Regions from separate parts of the Homo sapiens genome. Here region 2 is linked to region 1. The links are contacts of gene promoters, found by promoter capture Hi-C in human tissues and cell types (Jung and others, 2019). All regions are on one chromosome and are shown on one strand. The core of a region is centred on a gene start or on the middle of the fragment in contact, and the rest is flanking DNA. Distances in the headings are between cores, read along the strand shown. Region 1 holds the start of UGT2B28 (UDP glucuronosyltransferase family 2 member B28). Region 2 has its middle 26 kb from the start of UGT2B11.

What was found. The method cuts DNA at HindIII sites, captures the fragments that hold promoters and counts their contacts. A contact is called where the count stands out against the background at its distance.
Region 2: a contact is called between a fragment that was not itself captured here and the fragment with the promoter of UGT2B28 in region 1, in 2 of the 25 tissues and cell types used here (heart left ventricle and mesenchymal stem cells).

Annotation. Positions count from the first base shown.
Region 1 is chr4:69,278,520-69,282,318 of GRCh38, reverse strand. It overlaps UGT2B28 (UDP glucuronosyltransferase family 2 member B28), which reads right to left and starts at 1,844. Exons shown (of 6, transcript NM_053039.2): 1 at 1,098-1,844. The coding sequence starts at 1,818. The HindIII fragment of the contact is 10,884 bases long and covers 527-3,799 here.
Region 2 is chr4:69,239,310-69,243,045 of GRCh38, reverse strand. It overlaps the pseudogene LOC100533845. Among named protein-coding and RNA genes, the nearest start is that of UGT2B11, 26 kb to the right of the region's middle. The HindIII fragment of the contact is 4,183 bases long and covers 1-3,736 here.

The DNA.
Region 1 (3,799 bases), core at 595-3,094:
AGGCAAAGTGGTGGGAGAATTATGAAGTTAAGCGACATCTCTAATGTCAAGTCAGTGTACTCACAATTATTAAAATAAGTCATAGAAAATTAAACATCAATTTATTTTCTCTTTAAAGCTTCAATAGTTGCATATAGATATTTAAACAACTCTTTGAGCTCCATAATCAATTAATTCTACTGTACCCATAAAACCAATTTTCTAACAGTCCAGTTTACACAACTCCTTAAGCTAATCCTTTTATCTTTGGTTCTTCAAGTGAACTCGGACTATTTTGAGAGTATGGCAGAAATCCTTGTACCAACTACTCATTTGGATTTGAGCTAAGATCTTAATAATATTATCATTTAAGTAAATATATTTGTAAATTATAGCTAGAAATTTTTGAGAAATTATTGAAATAGAGATCTGTACTCAACCTTAATCTGTCTCATATTTTTAAATAAAGAGACATAGTTTCAAATAAACTATATAGATATAACAACCTTCACACTTCAACAAGATAATTGGACTTTAAATGAATGAATTCCAATTCTTTAGTGAAGGAGTATAGAAACATTAGAAACTTCAAATTACCCTGATTAACTTTTGCATCTGAGATGTGGACATTATCTCTCTCTACTGTGAAGGAAACCTTCTGGAAACATGGGAATATCTTTTAATACCTAAAAAAGAAAACTGAGGTTTACAAGGAAAACTTTCTGCAGTTATATAGATAGTTGTAGAAAAATGTGTAATTACTCATTCTAAATCTATGCATTCAGTAAGATGTTACTTGATGGATTTCACTGTTTTTAAGATCTAAAACATTATATAGTAAAACAGATGTGTAATTGCTTAAAGTCTTAGGTGTACTAATATATAGGTTTATGATTTCCTGGGGTGTTCTGTATGAGTGATGGCCACAGGGTTTTAACAGACCTTATAATTTAAGCTTTTCTATAATGTTTGTGAGATTGATAGATCATCTTGTATTTTCATTTCATAAATTCACTTACCAAAAACTCCACTTCCCTGACTTTATGGCTTTATATAAGCTCTGCTTCAAAGACACAAATAAGTTAGATCTTCAAGTTCCCGATTAAACAAATTCTTACCTAAAACTTCACTGTAAAACTGATCCCACTTCTTCATATCACACATTTGGAACCAAAAGTCAAAATAAAGCACATAGATCATGTTTTTTACCCTCTCCATGAAAGTCATTTGATCACTTAATTTTGACATAACAACAGGTATGTAGGAAGGAGGGAAAATCAGTCCTCCACTGTGCCTTTCAATTGTGTAGCCAGGAGTGAAGCAGAGACTGTACACAAACGGTATGTTAAGTAGCGCAGCCAGCAGCTCACCACAAGGAAAAAAAGCATCTGCAAAAATGATGTCAAATCTTGACTCTTGTAGTTTTTTCATAACTTTCTTATTTGAAACTACATCTTTACAGAAGTTTCTAAATATGTCATGAAATTCCCACAGGATTTCTTGTTCTTGTGAAAAATATAACCAAAAGCTATCTTTTTGAATGTCTGACCATCTCTTAACCTGTTGCATGATGATATTCTCAAATTCAGTTTTAGTTAAAGATGTAGGATAAACTTCGAGTTTAAGAGTGAATGCGTCATTGGGATCAAAAAGAATGGAAGCTGAAGATGCCAGTACAGTCACCTCATGACCTCTCTGAACAAGCTCTTTCAGGATTGTCTTCATATTCATCCAATGGCTGTATTCACCGGTCCACACCAGCACCTTTCCACAACTCCCAGAGCTAAAGTAACAACCGAGATGTATCAGCAGAAGAACTGAAGTCCACTTCAGAGCCATCCTGGTGCAATGCAATCATTCTTTTCAAGTCACTGTTTCTTTCTCATACTTATATACAGAGATAAATCAATCAAGTTAAAACATAACTCCTTCAATCCAAAGTAAATATATTATAGGAGCATCCTGAGTACATGGATGACAAGGAGACAAAGTTTGATTACTTCATATTTACTCAAGGATGTTTGATGTTTCTTTTATGTTTATATTCGCTGTCATCCACCTAAGATTAATGACCTTGCAAGTACCCTGTTTTATGTAACCTATTTTATAATAGTGTCAAGAATAGTGGCAAGTGAGAGAGTCCTGCAGGGCCCTTGACACAGAGTAAGAGATGAAGTGATCGTACAATGCAAATAGCGTTTTTGAATATCGTGGTTCAAGGAATATCTTGTAAAACTTTGTTGAAGTATAATTCAAATACCATATGATTCATCAATTAGTATTTAAAATTAAGTATTTCCTTGTAAATTCACAGACTTGTGCATCCAACATAACAATCAGTTTTATCTAAAAAAACAAAAAACTCCTGTGTATTAGCTCTCATCTCCCCACCAAATTTCTGCACCCGCCCTGCACTGGGCAACCAGTAATCTAATTTCTGCCTCTAGAAATACACCTATTCAGGCTCTTTCTAAAAGTAAATGGAACGATATAATATGTGGTCTTTTGTGGCTGGCTTCCTTTACTTAGTTTAATGTTTTTAAAGGACCATCCATAGAATAGTGTAAATAAGGACTTCATTTTTATTGCCAAATAGTTATCAGATGCTATTTATAAACACAATTTATTTATTCATTTAATAGTTGATGGATACTGATTTACTTCCACTTTTGGTCATTATGAATAGCATTGTTTAACATTGATGTGCATGATTTCTGTGGACATGTTTTTATTTTTCTTGGGGATATGCCTAGAAAGGCAATTACTGAATTATGTGGTAAATGTAAGTGTAATCTTTTGAGGAATTGCTAGACTTTTTCAGAGTGGGTGAATAATTTTCTATTCTCACCAACAATGTATGAGGGTTTCAATGTCTCCACAACCTTGCCCACCCTTGTCTTTCACATAACCAAAAAGGTTATTTTTTACTTCAATTTATAAACACACTCTAACAGACCCCAAAAAGGAAGGTTTCCTTCCACATATTGGAGGGAAAAGTGAATAAATTAAGTACTAACTTACCTAATACTTCACTGTACAACTGATCCCACTTCTTTCTGTTAAAAATCTCAAATGCAAAGTCAAAATGAAGAAAATGCAACAGATTTTTCACCTTTCTACAAATGTATATTGGTACTAAGTTCTGATATGACAACAGTTACATCAGAAGGAGGTAATGTAAGTCCTCCACAGAGTTCTTGGTACATACTGCCAGTTGTAAATTGATGATTGTAGACCAAATGTATAACAAATGTTTAACAGATTAAGGTGTTCAGATAGCAGCTCACTACTGAGAACTTACATTTGCAAGAATGATATAAATTCTGGAATCTTGTTGTTCCTCATAATTTTCTTGTTCAAAACAGCATACTCACAGAGCTTTTGAACAGTATCAGAACATTCATGATATGTAGTTTTTGCATCTTTGAATCATATGTCAACAATGTACTCTTTGGAAACTTATATGTCCACATCTTGATCAACTTCATAAAAATGAAATCAAGTTCCTTCTGAGTAAAAGATGTGGGATAAACCTCAAATTTAACAGCAGATTGTTGGAATCAATGAGGATGGAAGCTGAAGGTGACAAGCACAGTTACCTCACGGTGTTCTGAGCAAGTTCATCAACTATCAACATTAAATTGATACAAAGACTATTTCATCGGCCACACCAGCACATTCTAACAGGACTCAGAGCTAGAATACAACTGTCAGCATAAGAAACAAAAAAGTCCATTTCTTAGACAACTTGTTAAAATGCTATCTTTCTTTATAACTTTCTCTAACTTGGTACATATCAATATCAATCAATGTCACAATG
Region 2 (3,736 bases), core at 427-2,926, 39 kb after region 1:
GTTTCCTGTAGCTTCTTCATAAGTGTCTGATTGTAGATAATGCTCTCACACATCATTTTTGAAGTTCCTCATTTCAACAAAAAACATTTAATTTTATGACTGATTGCCACGCTGGTAAGCCTGGGAAGACATTCAGAGCTAGGTCAACAAATATTTCATTTTCTTCTGTTTTATCCTATGGCATATGGACCACCTCAAATTTCAGTGCAGAAGGCTTCCTGTAATCAATTAACAAAGACTTTGAGTGAGTCAATACTGTTACCTCATGGCTCCTCACTATGATCTCCTCTAGAATGACCTTGACATTAAGCCAATGGCTCATGTCACAGGGCCACACCAGGACCTTCTCCCAGAATCCACAGCCATCACAGAAGAGTTGCAGGAGCAGAAATACCAAAGCTGACTTCTTGGGCCTCATGATGACATTTCCCTCACACAATGATCTGCAATAGTTTTGTAGTTACTAAGCATGAAATTGAAATGACAATATAAGCACAGAAGTTAAAAATTAATATTTTAAGAGTAAATAAACTTCATTGGTTGGTTGCCAGCTTCACATTTATTGAAGATATCAAAAAGAAATGCAATGTTGCAATGTATCAGGGAAAATTTGTTCCAACCTTCTAGAGCTTAGAAATAAAACACATAAAGATACTTTTATTATCTGGATTGATGATAAAGAAATTTTTTTTAAATTCTTTAGATTTAATAATTCATGTGCAGAAACATATGCACACAACCGCACTTACATTCATTCCACACTAAATCCAAGGTGCCAGATTGTTTAGAAGAACTCATGTTTCACATCCTTTGCTCACAAGGACAATACAAAGAATTACTGGGAATACACTTGGAGACATAGGTAACTATTTTTATTAATTTTATATAATAAGTGCAAAGTGTTCAGTATTTCAGAGGAGAAAAATGCACAATTGCTTTAATATCTGATAATTAATAAAAGCTTTAGTAAGACATTTGACTTAGGAGGTGAGATGAAAGCTTCATTAGGATTTATTGTTGTCAAAGGAAGCATTTCACAATCAATAGAAGCATGACGAAAGTATAGGATATTTAAAAGTCATTCTAGTGAGAAGTGACCACAGAGAAAGTTCAGGGCAGGATGTTACAGAACAAAGTCAGTTTGAAATAGGAGAAATTAGTTTTAAATAAACAATTATTAGTTTGAATGATAATTTATGGGCAAATTATTATTTACTCAAGTTTTAAAGGACAGTCGCAAGATCAAGCTTTTCTTTAGCAAGAAATTCTTGCATCTCAACATAGAGTGATATGTAAAGATAAGAGTTTAAAAACAGGGAAAATGATAAAAATTGTATATTAGTTACTGAGACATGTCAACCTTATGGAATAAAACATAAATTGTTAATAGTAAATGTGAGAAATTAATTTGAAATTTGTATTTACTGATAATATCTGAGACAGGAAAAAATGTATAGGAGAAAATACACGGTTTTGGTTTCTGTGTTAATAAGCAGAAGGCTAATAATGACATTAGGTAAAATATTATCATTATGTTCTAATTATTCAACAACTCTATGTAGATGTAAACCAAAAATAAAATTTTAAGCATCCCCAACCACCTAAATGGACCCTTACTCTCAGCAAAGAGCATTTCAAACTTAATCTGAAAAACTGGTTCAGACAATGATGGGAAGTGGGGTGGTGGGATAGGACATGCCTCATTATACCCTCCTCCCTTTTTGAATTCAGGAAAATCTTACAAGCACTACCATCAACACAGACCTTAAAGACCTTAAAGACAATAGAACAGACTCATTACATTTGATAAGAAACATTTACAATCTATATTCTCTCAAGCCTGTTGCCTGACCGCTTTATCTGCATGATAAAACCTTGGTATTCACAGCCCCTTATCTTAACCTAGACATTCTTGTCTATTAATTCTATATCTTTAGACAACAATATAACTCAACCAATTGCCAATAGAAAATCCTCGAATTAGCCTATGACCTGGAAACCCCTGCTCTCAGTTGTCCTGCCTATTCAGACCAAGTCAATGTATAACTTACATGTATTGATTGATGACTAATATCTCTGTAAATTGTATAAAACTAAGCTGTAGCCTGAGCGCTATGGGGAAATGTTCTTAGGATCTCCTGAGGGTTATGTCGCAGGCCATCATTGACTCATATTTGGCTCAGAATAAAACTCTTTAAATATTTTAAAATGTTTGACTCTTTTCATCATAACAACTTGACATTTGAACATGTGGGGCCTCAGACAAAACTCAGGACACCATAAAACGTGCCTGAACTTGAAGCTAAGGTAGCAACAGAGGCCCACTGAATGCCTCTCCAATTTTGAGCTTCTTCTCCAGTGGGACTGGTAAGTCCTCTTGAGCTCTGGACCTCCCTTTGGTTGATAGTCTTTGGTTTATTCTGAATTTTTTTTTCTCCTGGGAGGTTGTCTTTTAGAATCTTAATTATAGTTCAGGAGTACATTCTAAAGGGTCCTCTCCATTGCCTTTTCTCCCAAAGATAAGCTCAAATGGCTTGTCTGCACATTTGCTTGAGGAACTGAACTATTATTTTTGTAGATCAGTGAGAGATGAGAGACTGACCTCCTCAGCAATGAAGAGAAAGGACGTTTTGCTCCTCCAAGCCAAAGGGGCCTATTTGGAATGTCTAGGGTGTTAAACCTTCACCATACAGAGTCGCCAAACAGAGAACCCCCCCAACACAATGAGTTTAAAAAATTCATCTAGCAAATGTATGTAAGAGCTGATCACTCAGTGTTTGGAGCCCTCATGGAGGTGATACACATATGGAGAGAGAAATTAATGAGAAGAGAAAATAAGGAACCAGTTAGGCAGATAGTTAGGGCAAGGTTCTTGGTAGAAGCCCTCCCCCAAAAATAACAGTCTGGAGGAAATCAAACTGCAAGCGCAGGTAAGGAAGCAAAGTCCAAAAATAAGTCTGGAGGAAATCAAACTGCAAGCACAGGTAAGGAAGCAAAGTCCAAAGCCTTTGTCTTCTGTGCAACCAGTGAGCTCTGCCTATACACGATGGCCTTCAGTGAGCACATTCCTTTTCTTTTTGGTCATACTCAGATAAAGGAACTTGCACAGGGTGCTTTCCTAAGACAGACCTGTAGCTGTATAGATAAGGAAAGTTACACAGAACAAGACACATCCGCAGTGAAACAGAGTCAATAAGCAAAATAAAACAACATGCAGTAATTCAGGCTAAGGACCTGCATGCACACTAGAGGGAAGAGTTGGAGCTAACAAGAATTTGTATGTATGCAAATAAGACATCCAGTCCTAACCGGGTTTTCATGACTTATGCACATGAAACACTCTGCCTCATTAGCTTTTATTTTTGTATATAAAAGTCTGCATTCAACTGTGAAATGACAACGCTCTCGGGCTTCCTCTTCACAGTAGATAGCTTTTCTCTTTTGCTTATTAAACTTCTCTTCCAACATTACCATTGGTGTCCACAATCCTTAATTGTTTGGGTCTTGAGACAAAGAACTCCTGGTGATACCTCATACAACAAGACTGCTCCAGTGACCCTAGGCTGCTTCACTGTGAAAAGTAAATTAGAAGTTCCTTTTCAAAGACTTTCCTCCCCATCTAATCAAGAATAAATAGTAACTTCTCTTAGAAGCAAAATTTATTCAGAGAAGTGTGCTGCACTTTTAAATATCTGCTAGCTGTAATAAAGAAATCTATGTACTTTATGTTCTTAGC